3 separate regions of the Homo sapiens genome follow, and all the other regions are linked to region 2. The links are contacts of gene promoters, found by promoter capture Hi-C in human tissues and cell types (Jung and others, 2019). All regions are on one chromosome and are shown on one strand. The core of a region is centred on a gene start or on the middle of the fragment in contact, and the rest is flanking DNA. Distances in the headings are between cores, read along the strand shown.

Region 1 (3,253 bases), core at 455-2,954, 38 kb before region 2:
ACGAATAAACATAAAAAAATTAATTTAAAGATCAATATATTGGACATCATTGAAATTGTATTAGTCGCCTATTGATGTTGTCACAAATTATATAAACGTAATGGCTTTTAAAAACCTCATAAATTTATTATCTTACAAGTCTGTAGGTCAGAAGTCTGACATATATCTCCCTGGACTAAAAGTCAAGGTGTTAGCAAGGCCAAATTCCTTTCTGGAGGCTGTAGGGGAGAATCTATGTCCTTGCCTTTTCCAGTTTCTATAGGCTTCGTACATTCCTTGGCTGTGACCCTCTTCCTTCCTCTTCAAAGCCAACAATGGCTAGTTGAGCCCTTCTCATATTGCATCATTCTGACCTCCTCTTCCTCCTTCTTCTTTTGTTTTTCAGGACATTTGTGACTACTTTCGGCCCACCCAGATCATCCAGGATAATCTTTCTATTTTAAGGTCAGCAGATTAACAATCTTAATTCCATCTGCAACCTTAATTCCTCTTTGCCATGAAAGGTAATATATTCACAAGTCCCAGAGATTAGGTTGTAGAAATCTTTGAGGGTGGAGCATTATTCTGTTAAGAGGAAAATTTAAAATTTCTGCTCTTGGAATGATATTGTTACAAAAATAAAAAGCAAGCCGTAGACTGGGAGAAAAGATTTGCAAAACATATATTAAACAAAAGACTTGTATCTAGAAAGTATAAAGAAGCCTTAAAACTCAATAAGAAGACAAACAACTCAATTAAAAGATGGGAAAAGATTTGAAGAGACAGTTCACCAAAGAAGATGTATGGATGGCAAATAAGCACATGAGAAGATGCTCAGTATCATCAGCCAATAGGCGAATGCATTTAAAATCACAAAGAGATACTACCACACACCCTAGAACCAGAAATACCATTTGACCCAGCCATCCCATTACTGGCTATATACCCAAAAGATTATAAATCATTCTACTGTAAAGACACATGCACACGTATGTTTATTGCAGCACTATTTACAACAGCAAAGACTTGGAACCAACCCAAATGCCCATCAATGATAGACTGGATAAAGAAAACATGGCACATATACACCATGGAATACTATGCAGCCGTAAAAAGGATGAGTTCATGTCCTTTGCAGGGACATGGATGAAGCTGGAAGCCATCATTCTCAGCAAACTAACACAGGAACAGAAAACCAAGCACCGCATGTTCTCATTCATAAGTGGGAGTTGAACAATGAGAACACATGGATACAGGGAGGGGAAAAACACACACTGGGGCCTGTCGGGGGGTGGGGGCCAAGGGGAGGGAGAGCATTAGGACAAATACCTAATGCATGTCAGCTTAAAACCTAGATGATGGGTTGATGGGTGCAGCAAACCACCATGGCACATGTATACCTATGTAACAAACCTGCACATTCTGCACATGTATCTGGAACATAAAGTAAAATTAATTTTTTTAAAAAGTAAATACTGTTTGAGTCCATTTATGTAAAATTCCAGATGATTAAATTATAGTAGCAGAAAACAGACAAGTAGTTGCCTGGAGATGGAGTTGGGGAGGAAAAGGTGTGGTGGATTACAAAGAGGCATAATAAAACTTTTGGGAATAATGGATATTGTACTAGTTTTTTATTGCTGCATAACAGATTACTACAAATTTGTTTAAAACAACACACAATTGTCATCTCACAATTACTAGGGGTCAGCAATCTAGGCATGGCTTAGCTGGGTGCTCTGCTCTAGGGTTCCTCACAAGGCTGCAGACTCATCTCAGCGCTTTCCTGGGGAAGGATCTGCTTCTAAGGTCACATGATGATTGGCAGGGTGCAGTTCCTTATGGGTTATTGGACTGAGAGCCTCAGTTTCTCACTGGCTATTGGCCAGGGGCCACGCTCACTTCTTTGCCATGTGGGCATCCCCATAGGGCAGCTCACAGCATGCAGCTTGCTTCATCAAAGGCAGCAAGGGAGAGAGTCTACTGGCAAGATGGAAATTGCACTCTTACATAAAACAATCACAGCAGCGATTTATTCTTTTGGTTAGAAAAAAGCTGTGGGTCCTGCCCACACAATGGGGTTCACAGGGCATGGATACCAGGTGGAGGGGGGACAACTGGGGGCCCTTTTATAGTCTGTCTGCCAGAGGTATGGTCATTTACATGATTGTGCTTATGATTTTATAGATATATATTAATGTCAAAACTTATCAAATTGTGCATGTTAAAATGTGCAGTTTTTGTCCATCAATTATACTTCAACACAGTTGTAAGAAGCTAAGAAACAGGACGGGCGTGTTGGCTCACACCTGTAATCCCAGCACTTTGGGAGGCCCGAGGTGGTTGGATCACTTGAGATCACGAGTTCCAGACCAGCCTGGTGAACATATAGTGAAACCCCATCTCTACTAAAAAATACAAAAATTAGCTGGGCATGGTGGTGGATGCCTGTAGCCCCAGCTACTTGGGAAACTGAGGCAGGAGAATCGCTTGAACCAGGGAGGTAGAGGTTGCAGTGAGCTGAGATTGCACCATTGCACTCCAGCCTGGATGACAGCGAGACTCCTAAGAAACAAAAAGCTTGACAAGCTGATTATAGAATAATACGGAAATGCAAACAGCCAAAGCCAGCTATGACAGAGGAAGGGAGTTTTGCCCTATCAAATATGAAGACTTGTTATAAAACCATTGTAGTTAAGAGTGTGGTATTCATACAGGGATAGACAATCAAGCAGAACAGATTAGAGAACCCAGAAACAGAGCCACATATACGTGGAAACCTGATAAACAACAGAGATGGCATTCTTAAACCAACGGGGAAAGGATGGACTTCTAAATAAATGAGGCAGCGACAATTGGGTATCCATATGGAAAAAAATAAAATTAGATATCTACCTCATAACATTCACAAAAATAAATTTCAGGTGAAGTAGACACCTAAATGTTTCAAAAGCAAAACTTTAAAACTTTTAGAAGAAAATATAGATTTATCTTTATGCCTTTTGTGTAGGGAATAAATTTTTAAAAAATATTGAAAATGTAAGCTACAAAAGAGCAATCAATTTGATTGACTTAAAATTATAATCTTCTGTACAACAAATTACCATCTACTAAATGAAAAGACAAGCCACATAAGAGGGAAAATTATTTACAACTGAATAAAAGATTTGTACTCATATTATATAAAAAACTATTCAGAATCGGCCAGGTGTGGTGGCTCACGCCTGTAATCCCAGCACTTTGGGAGGCTGAGGCAGGCGGATCACGAAGTCAG
Region 2 (3,031 bases), core at 484-2,983:
GCCCCTAAACTCCAGATTCAGATTCATATGTCCAACGGTCTACGTGCATCTCCAGGGGAATGCCTAGCAGGCATCTCTAACAGCATATCCAAAATGTAACTTTGGTTTTCTACCCAACTCAGTCCCACGTCACCTTTCCCATGTCAAGAAATGTTACCACCACCTACCCAGTTGCTCAAACTAAAATTCTAGGAATCATCCTTGACTTTTCCTAACTCTGCAAGACTTGTCAGTTCTCTGTCTAAAATATAAGATCTTCTCTTCCATTGCACCAGTCCAATCTGCCATTACCTCTCCTTGAGGCTGGGTTGGAGCCTCCCTGCTTCCACCCTGGCCTCCCCTTCTCCATACAGCAGCCCCTCCTACATGCTTTTAAAATGTAAATTAGATCCCATGCAAATCAGATCCCATGGCTTCTCCTGCTTGAAACATGTTTTTTTTTTTAAACATTTAGAATAGGCCGGACCGGATGACGCACGCCTGTAATCCCAGCACTTTGGGGCACTGAGGTGGGTGGATCACCTGTGTTTAGGAGTTCAAGACCAGCCTGACCAATATGATGAAACCCTGTCTCTACTAAAAATACAAAAAATTAGCTGGGCGTGGTGGCGTGTGCCTGTAGTCCCAGCTACCCAGGAGGCTGAGGCAGGAGAACGGCTTGAACCTGGGAGGCGGAGGTTGCAGAAAGCAGAGATTGTGCCACTGCACTCCAGCCTGGGCGACACAGCGAGACTCCTTTTCGATCTCCTGACCTCATGATCCTCCTGCCTCGGCCTCCCAAAGTGCTGGGATTACAGGCATGAGCCACCACGCCCAGCTGAGACTCCTTCTCAAACAAACAAACAACAACAACAACAACAAAAACATTTAGAATAAAAACCAAATCACTTCCATCGCCCAAAAGTCCTTTCATGGTACAGCTCCTGCCCAGCTTTCTGATCTTGTCTTTCCCTGGCTGAGGAATTCTATGGCTGTGAAATGGGTAGGACACAGTGAACCTCAGCTATGTGCCAGGTCAGGAGCCTCCCACACATCACCTGATACAGTCCTTGCTACAACCCAGCAAGGTAAGTGTTATTAACTCTGAATTTGTTGTGAGCATTAAGTGGAAGTGGATGATGCTAGTGCATAAGCAGTGATCAGCAAATGCTGGAGTCCCTGCCTTTCCTTTTGTTCCAGTGGTGGAGGTGGGCAGGACCTGTAGCCTAGAAAAGTCTACACTGCTTAGGGATAGAACTGGAACCAGAGCCGGCTGTCCCTTGTCATTCATGCTCCCTTATCCACTAGCCTGATGACCTGTCTATAGGGGGAGCTGAGAAGCGCGAGTTCTCGCTCTCTGGAGGGACATGTGGGTTGCTGAAGGAGTTAAGATGTCTCTTACCAAACCCTGGCCCTCCCCATCCCTGCATCTGCCTTTGTGGCTTTAATGAGAAATCCAGGCGCTTCATAAGAGACTGTACAAATAACTTCTAGGGCGCCACTAACTCATTCAGCAGAAAGGGACCCAGGGCTGCCAATGTTTCAGGGAAGATAAGTGAGTGGAAAAAAGGTGGTTTTTATAGCGTCAGGCGGACCGAAGGATTTGCGTGGTTGAGCGTGAACTCCGCCCCTGCAGCAGAGCTGAAAAAAACCAGGATCCGGGTTCCTCAGCCCCTTTTCACAATATTTGATTAGGAATTTGGGGCGGGACCCTGGTCTGGCACAGGCACGCACACTCTCAGTAGACTCTTTCACTCCTCTCTCTCTTCCTCTCTCACACGTTCTCCAACCCAAGGAGGCCAGACAGAGGGACGTGGTCACTCTCTGAAAAGTTCAACTTGAGGTAAGTATAGTCGTTTTACTTCGGGTTTGTCCCTAGCAGTTCCTTAAAAGAAATAAAGGAAAAGTGGTAGGGGATAGGGGAGATGGGGAGGCAGGGAGGGTTCATTCCTCCTTCTCCACATCTGGGCCATGACCCCAGGGATGCTGGAGAGTGGCAGAGAGGGTGTATAAGGGAGGGGTTCCAGCCCTGTACCTTTCTCTTACAGTTCCTTTATGGGTGCTGAGGGGACCTCCAATTCTCAGGCATGAAAAAGTGAAGGACCCTCTGTCTAGGGAAGCTTCTTCCCTGCTACTCATAAATCCCATCATGCTGGGAGTGTGGGCATTTTGAAGGGTATTCCAAGACCTGGATGTCCCTGCAATCTCTCTTATAGAGGGGTTTGGTACATAAATGCTATTATGGGAGAGGGGGAAACTTTTGTGTAGAATGTGTGTGTGTGTGTGTGTGTGTGTGTGTTTGGAGTGGAAAGGAGAGAATAAAAAGAAGCATTGAGAACTGGCCATGTCCAGGGAGCTGTGGATTGGGGTGGGGATGCAATCCAGGTGAGGGGATGGCCTCTGGCTTGACCTTCTCCACTGATAGGAGGGAGAGATCTTTCTCTAGAGTGGAGAAATGAAAGAACAGCAGTAGCTCCTGAGTAAACTTCCCCCAGCTGATAGTGTGGCAGTCCTGGAAACTTTCGACCTTACAGAAACTCTGAGCACAGGAGGGCCTCTAGCATTATGGGAAACAGTGTAAGACTATGCAACCCTGAAGCAACATTGCTAAGAGATGGGATGGGGTAAGGAGAGGCATAAGCTCCCCATCAAACCCTTTCAGCACCCATGGCTCTAAGAAGAGGCTGAAGTGGGCAGGGTGCACAGCCCCTAGAAAGCTGAGTCTGAAGGGGAAGGTGGCTCTTGTCTGCCAAGGTGCCCAGTCTGAAAGAAGGAGAAACGGAGACAGAGGCTCACTGTGCCAGCCCTCCAGACAGCCACCTTGGTCCTGCAACAGCCCAGGGCTGTGCATGGAAAAATGCTCTGTTGGCAGTGGGCCGCTCCATTCGTCTTCTCTCCTGGCCAGAGCCAGGAACCAGCCAGCTTGCCCAGGCAGTGGGCAGTTGGGTCAGCTTCTCCAAAACACTGTGGCTCTTTGTCTGAGGCCTGAGGCTGCCTGTGGATGAGCCAGGGTGCCTGCTCCTCTGCAACCTAGGAACTGATGGGATGAAGT
Region 3 (3,126 bases), core at 489-2,988, 56 kb after region 2:
CTGGGAGGGAGGGGCTGGAAAGTGTTAGGAATTCATCAAGCTTGTAACTAAAGCTGACTCTATGCCAGGCCCCATCTGGGGAAGGAATCTGCTCCCCCCAAAGGCATGTATTCCCCTGAGGGTTGCTTCTCAGCTGCTGTGCTCTACTAACCCAGTAGTGTCTGTGGGAAGATGAATGATCTGGGCTTCTCACCCTCCTTTGCCACCCTGGCTGTGTGGTCAGGGAAGGGTGAAGGCAAGAAGGATGGCGGAGGGTACAGGAGAGACAGTGAAGACGGGATGAGGTGGGAGCTGGGGAAGGGGAAGAGACGTGGACAGATGGCCAGACCAATATGGCTGGAAAGGTCCCTAGTGATGTGTTTTTGTTTCTGCGACTCCCTCGGTGTATCAGGAGCAAAAGGATGGGAACGATCTGCTAAAAGTCTGTTATCCTGGAGGCCCCCCAAGAATGTGACCTCCCACACCTTCTCCCTCTAGGCCTTCTCCTATGGTACGAGAAGGTGTGACTGAAAGTGCCAGAAACTCACAGGGGAACACATGGACTTGGGACAGAAGCAGATCTGAAGCTGAATTTATTGCCTCTTTCCCAAATTTAGAAGACAGACATGTTGTAAACCCTCCTCATCCTCACTCCCAGGGGCCCAGGATAAACCCCCTTTATCTCCAGACAAAAAACAAGAGAAGAGGCCCTGAACCTATTGGAGCTTCCCCAGATGTTGTTTTGGCAGAGCCGTAATGGGGCTGGGCCTCCTGGGGCTGAGTGTCTGGGGCAAGCAGGAAGCTGGCATCACAGCTGTGACAGCCAGAGACCACCTGGGGGATGGGGGCTGAAGGGAAGAGGAAGACAGATTCAGAAAGGAGGACACAAGAAAAAGTCTAAAGAAGAGGTACTGCAGCTTCTCACCTGTGGCCTCCTGGCTCTGGGCCTGAGGTACTTCTCTACTGCACCATGGGTTCAGGTCCAGGGATCCGTGTGGTTTGGAGGAAGGAGCTAGGAGAAAGGGAGAGATGGTTGGAGTTCCCTGAGCCTTAGTTTGCTTATATGTAACAAAAGAGTATTGGGCTAGGAGACCCACCCTGCCTCTTAATCTGTCATCTATGGTTCACATTGATGACTCCTTGGGTCCTAGTGGAATACGTGATCACCTGCCAGCAAGAGAGGATTTTCCTGATGAGGTGACAAGATATCCTGGAGCCCTACTTCCTGAGCGGATCCCATATCCAATTACTGGCCCAGTCCTGTCAGTTATCCTCTTGAAATACCTTCTACTCAGCATCACTGAAGCCACCAACTGTTAGATCGTTCTTGGATAGTTTCAACAGTTCCCTAAGTGGTCTCTTTGCCTGAAGTGCTTCCCTTCCTGCCCTTTCCTCAGTCCATACTCTGCTGTCAGAGCTCCTAAACTACAGGTCTGTCTTGTCTCTTTCATGTTTAAAAGCTCTGAAGGCTCCCTACAGTTGAAAGTTTAATTCTTGGTTTGGCCTTCAAGGCCTTTACAATCTGGCCCAACCTCAAAGCTCAATTAACCCATTCTCAGTGTTTCTCAAATACATACTTTGCACTTTCATACCATTGTGCCTTTGTAGTTTCAACAGTGAGGTCTTGCCATGTTGCCCAGGCTCTGGAGTGCTGTGCTTACTCACAGGCATGAACATAGCTCCCTACAGCATCAAACTCCTCACCTCGAGTGATCATCCTCCCTCAGCCTCCTGAGTAGCTGAGTGCCCAGCTTATTGTACCTTTACTCATATTATTTGCTCTGCCTGAAATTCTCTCTGTTCAGCTCTTTGTCCATCAAAAAGCTGACTAATTATCTCCGTGCAAGTGATACAGAAGGAGTGAAAACATTATTTTTCCCACATTATTGAAGAAAAAAGTAAGGAACATATAGGGCAATGGACATGTCAGGAAAGTCTCTAAAAAGGGGGCTGGGGTAGTGGGGTGAGAGTGGGCTAGGGAAGGGTGGGAAAGGATTCTAAATCCTACTTCCTCCATCCCTTCCACTAAGAATAAGGTTGGGGAGGAGTGGAAAGGAATCTTTATTTAGATTAAGAATGGGTGGCCTGAGCTGCTTGTTATGATATATTAGTCTTTTTTTTTGAGACAGGATCTCACTCTGTTGCTTAGGCTGGAGTATAGTGGCATGGTCTCGGCTCACAGCAACCTCCATCTCCCGTGTTCAAGCTATTCTCCTGCCTCAGCTTCCTGGGTAGCTGGGATTACAGCTGTGCGCCACCACACCTGGCTAATTTTTGTTATTTTTAGTAGAGACGGGGTTTCTCCATGTTGGCCAGGCTCGTCTCAAACTCCTGACCTCAAGGGATCTGCCCACCTCGGCGTCCCAAAGTGTTGGGATTATAGGCACCTGGCCTTATATCAGTCTTGTTTTGATGATGACTGGCTCCGATGGCATATAATTATGCTTTTTTACATTGGTGTCCCTGGATGGGCTAATTAAGTTTTTGAACTGACGGATTTGTTCTAGTGCGATGGGCAGAGCACATCCCTTAAAGCCACACTGCTTAGGTTCAAATCCTAGCTGTGCTACCTTAGGCAAGTTATTGAAGCTTTCTGTGCCTTAATTTCTTTATCTATAAAATGAGATTAATAGTAATTCTTACCTCTTAGAGTTGTTGGGAGAATCAAATGAGTTTACAATACTTAGAATAGTGTCTGGCACATAATAGTGGTCAGTACATGTTAACTATTATTACTTATAATTTATACTTTGCTTACTTCCAAGAAGAATTTGAGACAGCTTAAAATATTAAACCACATAGAGGATGATTTTATGTGTGTGTTTATATTATATTAAAGATCAGAAACGAATTGGTAGTAGGAGGAAGAAAGAGAAAGATAGATATTTACAAACTTGTTTGAATCAGATACTTCTTTGACACCTAAATTTATCTTTGAACTTCCAGGAAGCCAAGGTAAAAAGGGAAATACCTGCATTATATAGTTTTCATTGTGAAATATAAAAAAGCATTCAAGTTAGCCTGTTAAAACCCACCCCCACCAGCCCGCTACATCCACACATTCCTCAAGAAGAAATTTATGATATGAATCCCTATGTTGGAATACTGGAGCCAAAGAGTCTGAAGTTGTTCTCAGTTGGCATTTAG

What was found. Contacts are between HindIII fragments. The study calls those that stand out against the background at their distance.
Region 1: a contact is called between a fragment that was not itself captured here and the fragment with the promoter of FMOD in region 2, in 1 of the 25 tissues and cell types used here (liver).
Region 3: a contact is called between a fragment that was not itself captured here and the fragment with the promoter of FMOD in region 2, in 1 of the 25 tissues and cell types used here (IMR-90 fibroblasts).

Annotation. Positions count from the first base shown.
Region 1 is chr1:203,387,553-203,390,805 of GRCh38, reverse strand. The region is part of intron 5 of LOC102723529 (a long non-coding RNA gene); the gene reads right to left. Among named protein-coding and RNA genes, the nearest start is that of BMNCR, 18 kb to the left of the region's middle. The HindIII fragment of the contact is 6,096 bases long and covers 1-3,253 here.
Region 2 is chr1:203,349,824-203,352,854 of GRCh38, reverse strand. It overlaps FMOD (fibromodulin), which reads left to right and starts at 1,733. Exons shown (of 3, transcript NM_002023.5): 1 at 1,733-1,822. The HindIII fragment of the contact is 7,092 bases long and covers 1-3,031 here.
Region 3 is chr1:203,293,641-203,296,766 of GRCh38, reverse strand. No RefSeq gene overlaps it. Among named protein-coding and RNA genes, the nearest start is that of LINC01353, 8.1 kb to the right of the region's middle. RefSeq lists an enhancer at 1-408. The HindIII fragment of the contact is 5,946 bases long and covers 1-3,126 here.